Linked DNA regions of Homo sapiens: region 1 is linked to region 2. Evidence: promoter capture Hi-C in human tissues and cell types (Jung and others, 2019). All regions are on one chromosome and are shown on one strand. The core of a region is centred on a gene start or on the middle of the fragment in contact, and the rest is flanking DNA. Distances in the headings are between cores, read along the strand shown. Region 1 overlaps LOC105378061 (a long non-coding RNA gene). Region 2 holds the start of SYNE1 (spectrin repeat containing nuclear envelope protein 1).

Evidence for each region. Contacts are between HindIII fragments. The study calls those that stand out against the background at their distance.
Region 1: a fragment that was not itself captured here is called in contact with the fragment with the promoter of SYNE1 in region 2 in 1 of the 25 tissues and cell types used here (hippocampus).

The regions. Positions count from the first base shown.
Region 1 is chr6:152,670,592-152,675,558 of GRCh38, reverse strand. The region is part of intron 4 of LOC105378061 (a long non-coding RNA gene); the gene reads right to left. Among named protein-coding and RNA genes, the nearest start is that of MYCT1, 25 kb to the left of the region's middle. The HindIII fragment of the contact is 3,884 bases long and covers 471-4,354 here.
Region 2 is chr6:152,634,335-152,638,967 of GRCh38, reverse strand. It overlaps SYNE1 (spectrin repeat containing nuclear envelope protein 1), which reads left to right and starts at 1,606. Exons shown (of 146, transcript NM_182961.4): 1 at 1,606-1,779; 2 at 2,163-2,330. RefSeq lists an enhancer at 3,979-4,108. The HindIII fragment of the contact is 20,643 bases long and covers 1-4,633 here.

The DNA of each region.
Region 1 (4,967 bases), core at 1,163-3,662, 36 kb before region 2:
TCCTTGAGCAGTGGTTTGTAGTTCTCCTGGAAGAGGTCCTTCCCATCCCTTGCAAGTTGTATTCCTAGGTATTTTATTCTCTTTGTAGTAATTGTGAATGGGAGTTCACTCATGATTTGGCTGTCTATTATTGGTGTATAGGAATGCTTGTGATTTTTGCACATTGATTTTGTATCCTGAGACTTTGCTGAAGTTGCTTATCAGCTTAAGGAGATTTTGGGCTGAGATGATGGGGTTTTCTAAATATACAATCATGTCATCTGCAAAAAGAGACAATTTGACTTCCTCTCTTCCTATTTGAATACCCATTATTTCTTTCTCTTGCATGATTGCCCTGGCCAGAACTTCGAATACATTGTGGAAGACAGTGTAGCAATTCCTCAAGTTTCTAGAACCAGAAATACAATTTGACCCAGCAATCCCATTACTGGGTATATACTCAAAGGATTATAAATCATTCTACTCTAAAAACACATGCACACGTATGTTTATTGCAGCACTGTTCACAATAGCAAAGACTAGAACCAACCCAAATGCCCATCAATTATAGACTGGATAAAGAGAATGTGGCACACATACACCATGGAATACTATGCAACTATAAAAAAGGATGAGTTCGTGTCCTTTGCAGGGACATGGATGAAGCTGGAAACCACTATTCTCAGAAAACTAACACAGGAACAGAAAACCAAACACCACATGTTCTCACTCATGAGTGGGAGTTGAACAATGAGAATACATGGACACAGGGAGGGGAATATCACACACTGGGGCCTGTCGGGGACTGGGGGGCTAGTGTAGGGATACCATTAGGAGAAATACCTAATATAGATGACGGGTTGATGGGTGCAGCAAACCACCATGGCACATGTATACCTCTGTAACAAACCTGCACATTCTGCACATGTATCCCAGAACTTAAAGTTTAATAAACAAAAATTAGTTTTTAGCTAAAACTTGCATTCTGTTATTAGTAAGTTTTCCAGCAGCCTACCACTATTTATGATTTTTCTGTTTATATTCTGTTTATATTCTTGTTTTAGGAGCTGGCACGTGTCTTGACTACATCACTGGCATTTTACATCCTTGGTTCTTTGCCAACTGATTTCCTTCTTTCATTCCTTCCACTCTTTCCTCCATGTTTGCTTCTCTGAATTTAAATTTCTTCATTTGTTAATAGGGGTGACAATAACACTCATCACACAGAACTGAGAAGTGATCTAATGAAATGACCCATTTAAAGCATTTCGATCATTAGGTCAGTATACAGCAGCTGTAATTAGTGCCTGATATACACAAAGTCCTATTATTAATGTCTTATGAAAGAATTTGTATTAGAAAATCTCTAAGCTATTCTAGCTATTATTTTGACCTAATTTTATGGTAATTATTATCTAATTATAGTGAGTTCTTGTGTATTTTTTAAATGTCAGGCTATTAATATGAGAAGATAGTTATTTAAAATGAAACAATGGTAGTGGACTTTAACAGAGACAAAACGGGTTTATTCAATGTCTCAATCAGTATCTTTGTAGAAATTATATTTATGCAATAGCACTGAAAATTAAATGACTAGTAGAAACTGAGAAAAAGGAAACAGTAAAACAACGGTAGAAAATGTTTTCAGTAAATGTTACATTTGAACATATATTATTAATTTTTACATGGGAATAGTAGCATGATTTAATGCTTTTGAATAATTTAAAATAATTTTACCTTGAAAAAATGTAGGTAAACAATAAAGAAGATAGTTTGCGTTTTCCCATAGGAAGAAAAAATACGTCTTTATTATACCAATTTGTTCCAGGGGAATTGATGACATGTAGAAGCATATGTCTAACTGGCTCAGATAAATCGTCCAGATACAAAATGTTCCCAATAGCGTTGTCTACAGAATGTACTTTTTTGTCATCAATAAAAATGCTGTCTGAGCTTTGGAAAGGTACCATAGTAAATATAATAATGAATTTTTTTTCCTCTGACTTTTGCTTCCATCAGTCTCTTCTCTGTCTCTTACTGGTCATTGAAATTTTGAAAGCAAAATGCAAGCCAGTGCTGAAGTAGTTGTTTTTAAGCATATTAAAGACTCATTTCCTCTTACTTGGTTCACACCCTTATGAGAGGAATTCCAGGGAAGGACACAGTAGAGAAATATCCTTGAAAGTGTGTGTGTAATCAGTGGATATGTATTCCACTGGGAGTGATTTTTTTTTTTTTATCACACACAGTTTACATTAGTGGGTAATGAATCCCCAAAAATCCAAAGTTCTCAATTTCCAAATACTTTTCATCTCCTAACTGAGATTGTGTTAAACACTCTGAAGTGCAAACTATTGCTTGAAACAACTCTGGTTTATTATTATAACCTGAATTAACCCTCATCAAACTAATTTTAGGTGTATCATACAGGCAATAGATATGCTTCCTTAAAAATAATGGTAATCTTTTAATAACACTTGGGAGTTCATGATTTAAGGGAGCTTTTAGAGGATTGTTTTTGTAACATAATGACTAATTTTATAATAGAAAAGAATCAAATAAGGGACACTTTACAATAAGATAGAGATGTATTGTGTGGGTCTATATTTTTACATAACTTTAAATTTTATTTCTTTTTTTTTTTTTTGAGACGGAGTCTCTCTCTGTCACCCAGCCTGGAGTGCAGTGGCGCCATCGCGGCTCACTGCAAGCTCTGCCTCCCGGGTTCACGCCATTCTCCCGCCTCAGCCTCCCGAGTAGCTGGGACTACAGGCGCCCACGACCACGCCCGGCTATTTTTTTTTTGTATTTTTAGTAGAGACGGGGTTTCACCATGTTAGCCAGGATGGTCTCGATCTCCTGACCTCGTGATCCGCCCGCCTCGGCCTCCCAAAGTGCTGGGATTACAGGTGTGAGCCACCGCACCCGGCCAATATTTTCAACTTATGATAGGTTTATTGGAGTAAGTCCAAGAGCATCTGTACATGTTAACATGTAATTTTTGACATGGAGATAATAACCCAGGGTGTAGAAGGTATAACCTCAGCCTCTTTGCACCATATAACCACGGAACATACAGACAGAAAGAAATGATGCTCTGCAACAAGGAAAATAAGCTGTGAAGTAGTGGTGTTAAAGGAAACCCTTTACATTACACTTTGATGCTAATTGTCTCAATTAAAGACAAAAATGTTACCTTTTTCACATTAAGTGAAAAGAAGCTAGACATGAACAAAGATACATTGTGATGCCATAATATTGCTCTTAGAAATTGACATTTCAAAGTGATTGCCATTAACACTCATTACTATGGATACAGTCAAGAATTCATTTTTTCTGTCCTTCTAACAATGGTTTCAAAGTGGCTGAGCGGAACGGAAGACCTGAAAGTGGGCCGGTGATGCTATAATACTGGAATAATTATAAAACAATCACAAGAAAGCTTGTTTATTCTATAACCACATTATCCTATACGGTGGCCATATTTGTCCATTTAAATGTAAGTTAATTAAGACTAAATTAAATTAAAATTCAGTTTTTCAGTAATGCTAGTCATGCTTCATATGCTTGTAGCTAGCAAGCTTTCATTCACTTGTAACTAGCAGCTGCCATATGGACATCATAGATACAGATTTCCATCAGCACAGAAAACTCTACTGGACAGTGCTGTTTTATAATCACCAGATTTTTTTAAGTTACCCATGAAATTATGTATTACGTATTTGAGGTTATCCGTATTCTGTAAAATAGCAATGACATAGTAGAAATATTCTTCTATAGTATTGAAAGGCTCTGTAACCTCATGAGAAGAACACAAAATTCAGACTCACATAAGTCTAGATTCTAATCTTAACTCTGCTGACTGACCTTGGACATACTACTTTTTGTTTCTAAGCTTTTGTTCCTTCATTTGCAAAATGAGGTAGCAAAATGCTTGCCTCATAAGAAGTTTATAAATATCAGAAATAACATACGTAAAGGTGCTTCCTATGGTGCCTGACACATAGTTGGTATTAACTTATGGTTGTTATTGTTTTTATTAATTAACAAAGGAGAAGACAGTAAAGCTGTCGGTGGTCACAGACACAAGTCATACTTTTGCATAAAAGGTGAATCTTTATTTTCTAGAAAACGTATCTTATAAGCTCAGTTCATTTTCATAGTATCACACCAAAAATGTTTGTGATCATAGTAATCACAGAATAGTGAGGAAATGACCAAGCAAGGATAGGAAAATATATAACCACAAAGGAATCAGTGAGTCAGGAAGAGGATAACGAGAATTTTAAATGGTATGAAGCGGAAAAGACAGAGATAATAAAGAAGGACACAAATATGCAAGAATAGAAAGGAAGAAATAATCTCAGATACAGTTCCTCCTGGAAATATACCAGAAAGATATGTGAAAACATAATGACACAATCAAATAGGGAAGGGAAAATGATTTCTTACTACAAGACTGTGAGGAAACAGCTTTTCTATAAAATTATTTTTCCTGTGCTAGAGAAGCATATAAATCTAAAAGATTAAAGAGAAAAAAAGAAGGCAAAACTGCTGCAGAACATCTACTTCTGGTGTGTTTTTAACCTTATGCATGTTCTTCTAAACTGAAGTGCCACTGTTTTTAACACATAATATGAGTAAGATGAATTAGATATTTAATCCCTCCAGATTTAGTATATATTGTTCATGGTAAGAAGTTTGGCTTTGACGACCAAAATGTGCACTCTCTGAGAAGTTTCATCACAAAAAGGCACTCCTGTAAAGTCATGTGCCTCAATTGCCAGGAGGGGCATATATGAAGGATAACACAGTAATGGAGAACAGAAGAGTCACATGTCACTGTGGCCAAAGCTTCCATAATGGAGAATTAAGGAGTCAATGTGATAAAGCTGCAGAGCTAGGGAGGGATCTCAGGCATTGCCTGTATATTCCATGGGGAAAACCAGCTGCTTGAATTTAACCTGGACACTGGAAGAGATAAGGTG
Region 2 (4,633 bases), core at 357-2,856:
GTGGAAGCAATGTTTCAGGCTTGTGTTTTAAGTGGCTCACTTCTCAAGTAAGTAAACCCAAGAAAGTAGTTGCTTAACGTGTAGAATAGCAAGTTGGTGGCCAGGTGCAGTGGCTCACACCTGTAATCCCAGCACTTTGGGAGGCCGAGCTGGATGGGTCACCTGAGGTCGGAAGTTTGAGACCAGCCTGACCAACATGAAGGAACCCTGTCTCTACTAAAAATACAAAATTAGCCAGGTGTGGTGACGCATCCCTGTAATCTCAGCTACTCAGGAGGCTGAGGCAGGATAATTGCTTGAACCTGGGAGGCGGAGGTTGCAGTGAGCCGAGATTGCACCATTGCACCCCAGCCTGGGGAACAAGAGCGAAACTCCATCTCAAACAAACAAACAAACAAAAAGAATGGCAAAGTTGGCACAATAACTTTCTACCCATCTTCAAAAGCCGGCAGGGTGGATTGATTCTATGAAGGTAGGGATTGAGAGGGTGAGCTGAGCCATTCTGATCTGTTTCTTCTGAGTGGCAAGCCTGGAAATCTGGACCCCATTTTGTGGCCACTGGGCACAGAGGGCTGACCTGGAATAATTATGCTCTGGTGGTTGTCTCCACAAGGGGCTCTGGGGGTGCCCCAGGATTGTTGCCCTCAGGCAGAGGCAGGGCATACATTGAGAGTGATCCCAAACACTCCTCCTCCAGGCCCAACTTTTGGAGGTAGCAAGTTCTGCAAATAGAGATCCATTGTTTGGTTTCTCTCTCTAAAAAAAAACAAAAGTCAGCACAAAGAAGAGGAACACATCAGATTGGTTTACCAGATTTGTTTCAGATGTTATTATTTTGACACGATCCAGAAGAAGGAGAATTTGAAGAAAATGGAAAGCTAGGCAGTGGGAATGTTGGCAGCAGGTAAGGGAAAGGCAGGCAGCAAAGAGAAACTTCATCTACTTTATAAACTGCTCCTTCCTTTCAGCAAATTTAGAGGATAAATGACTGTTTTGTTCAGATTGGAGATTCAAGGGGGGGATTATTACTTTTAAGATTATTGCAACATGGCTTCGATTATTTTAGCTGCAATCATCCTGTTGGACTTGGACTTCACTGTTGGTGAAGAGAGACTGTGTTTGACTTTGCCTGGATACCATAAAACCACAACAAAATAAATTCTCCTGAATGCTACCAGGCAACACCAAGATCTCTTACACCACGAGAAGGACTTGTGGCCAAAGATACAAATGGCTCCGCAATGTACAGGGTGCATACAGTGCACCTGAAGAACCTAAAAGTGGTTTTTAGAATCATCATAATAAACAGTCAAGAATTAAAGATGTCAAGCGCTTTCTCAAGAAGTCTAAACTTTATACATAACATTAAAAAAGATCTATAAAGCCTGACCAGTCTCCCTCAAATTAAGTTATTTGCTACTGACTTGGCAGCCAAAACGATTTAGGATCTTTCGGAAGTTGATGAAAAAGGAGCCAGCGGGTTTTGCTCTTTGCTCTGCATCACGCCCTTCCTGGGACCATCAGGGAACCTCCCAGCCTTTCAGGATAGGTTCCGCTCAGAAAGGTCACCCGGGCAGTGGAAACCGTGGGCAAAAGTTAGCTGGCAGGACAGCGCAGCTCCTCCAGGCAGCGGAGGCAGCGCGTCCCGGCTCTCAGGGACATTTCCTTCCCACCTCGACCCCCGGGAGGTGGTCCCGGTATAAAGGCTCGCTGAGCGGGTGGGTCACAGCACAGCTTTGCAGCTGCGGAGAAACGCCCAAGGCCGTGCATCTCCAGGAGGTAGGGAAGCCTGCGAGCCTCCGGGTCCCCGCCCCCAGCTCTTCCAGGCACCGGCGCATCCCGGAGCCGGGCGCGGGGCGCGGGGCACGGAGCCGGGGAGGGGGTGTGGCGGGCCAGGGCGGTGCAGGGACCCTGCCCAGAGGCTGAACCGGCCTGGGCGACCTTCCTTCCCGACAGGAGCAGTAGATGCGTGGGGGAGGGCGAAGGGGGAGGCCTCACCCCCCAGCGAGCAGCCGGGAGGAGGAACCGGTCGCGGAGGGCGGGGAGCGCGGCTGAGCAGCCCGGCGCGGGAGTGAGTGTGGGCGAGCCAGCCAGGGTGAGCGCGGGCGCCGGGCCGCGGCCGCCGGCCGCAGCGGGCTGAGATTGTTGTCCTCTGTCACCAGGGCGGCTGGGCTCCCGCAGTCCTGCAGACCGCGCCCGATCCCGGCGACAGGGCGGGCGGACAGCCGCGCATCCCCGGGGTCCCGCCGAGCCTGGGCGCAGAGAGCCGGGAGGAAGCGTTCGCTCGCTTCGCCTTGCTGCTGGGAAACTGAACGAGGCCGAGAGAGAAGGTAAAAGGAAAGACAGAGACTGGGAGACAGGGAGAGACAGAGACAGGGAGAGGAGAGAGAGGTGCAAGACGAACACATTGCAGACAAATTGTCAGCAAGTTTGTGCCTGCACGCTGGGGCTCTGCGTGCTTGATGGGAGGGGGTGGTGGCAGTGATGTGTGTACGTGTGCGATACTCATAGATAAGGAGACTAGGAGGTTGGGGAGCCTCTTTGCATCTCGTACGTAGATGTCCCTATTAATATCCCCCTCTCTGAGTTGTCATTTCCGCTTGTGGCACATCTCCTGGGCTCCAATGGTGCAGAAGCAAAAGGCAGCCAGCCTCTTATTGTGATGGTCGGTACTGTTGCTACTATCAGATGGGAGAGGTAGGGCGTTGAACAGATTCTAGGAGCCTCCCTTCCTCCACCCCCTGACTATTTTAGGAAGGGCTGGGGGAGGGAAATGGCTTGAAGGCTGCGCGGAGGCCCTGGCGCGTCAGACTCCAGCGGCGCTGTCATGGTGCAGTTGCTTCCCGGCAGAGCCTGCACTAGAGGGCAAGAGAACTTTCGTCTCCTCTTTATAAAGATACGTTTCACATAGAGAGATCTTGCATTGCTGGCGGAGGAGTTCTGGGAAATGGTGGTGCACAGGCGGCCAGGTGCATCCCAACGGGCAGGCATCCGTGCAAAACGAAGCAGCCATCAGCCGCACAGGAAGAAGCCCCTTGGGAAGGCAGGCTGGGTGTGCTGACTGGGATCCCAGACTTTGGATGCTGGAAGTTCTGCCCCCTTCCGTAAATAGAGTCAGGTCCAGCCCAGAGGGAAATATCAGCAATGAAGCCTTAGCATCCCACAATGTTCATTTCTGAGCTTTTCGTTTTGGGGTGGAAAACTTGTATCTGAAATGTTCCTGTGAATGTTAAGAAAGTTAAAAATGAATTATTTTTCTCTTCTTTAATGCCCATCCATTTTTTGTCTTCATCTGAGAATGACTTTCCTAAAGACAACATTCGTATACAGAAGCCAGACCTATGCAAGAGAAAGTATAATAATTTTCAATGAGGCAAAGGTCATTAATATGACCTACATCTTCATAAAATGCGAATTTAATCACGAGTCATGACGATTGTTCTTTGAGAGGCTTTTTATTCCCCATGGTGAAAAAAGATTTGTAGTATGGCTAAAAAGTTCCTGATATCACCGGAACAGTGTGACAAAATACATATCTATTTTTTCTTTTCTGTTCATTACTTTGTGGCAGATTTAGAACAAAATGTGAGAGATCTATACTAACTTAATATGTTTCATGCTGAAGATTAAGAAACAGCTTCAGACTGACCCAGATAACAATATTTGCTAGGCTTTGGAAATATTTGCCTAGCTCTTATTTTATAGTCTCACTTTCATCTTTCTGAACTAATGATTTTCACAAACTGGTTTTCTTCTGTCCTCATTGACCTCATTTAAGAACTCTTTTTTACTTGAGTCCTTCCTGCCAGGGAGAGGAGATTGGAAAAAGCTAGTTTGCCATTTAAAAATGTTCAAGAATTGTTTGGTGCTGCACTGGGCCTACTTTCTGATAACTATGCTGCACACACAGCATCTTGGAAATGAAAGGAGGTGTGACTGTCACAGGATGTAGGAAGCCCATAACTGGGCAAGGTTGGTGGCATTTTCACAACTCCAGCTCTAGCTACTGCAGCCACACCCTGTGGTCTGAATGTGACAGGCATGCAGGGCCCAAACGCCTCTGCGAGGTCCTCTGTGTGTCTCCTCTTAAATGTGTACTTCTTTGTGGTCTAATCTAACGAGAACTAATGTTTGGCAAGGTGTGCAATATACTGTAGCAAGGGAAAAAAAGAAGGTTGCAGATGTCTTTGGTTGTAATTTATACTTTAGGCTTACAATAAACAAAATTTAATTATGACACTGAACATCTTTCATGCTGATTTCTGCTATACACTTTGTCTTTTGCTTACTTGTTCATGTTCTTCTATGGAAAAGATCATTTCTTATTGTTACTCTGTATAATTCATACTAGTGAATAAGAAACAGCATTGTTCCCTGATAACCTGCACACATTTATTAGTAATATACTTACATTAATTCAAAGATATCCCTGTTCTTCTCTTTTAGCCATCTTAGTATTCATTAATTAGTACCATTATTAATGGGTGAATAGAGAAAAAAATAATTAAATTTAAAATTAAACAGTATGTGAACTCTCTTCAGCAAAAGACTTGAATAGAAGGGAAACTGAAATTTATTCATGACTAAAAATTTTATTCAATAGTGGGTTTCAATATTAGTGCTATTCTTATAC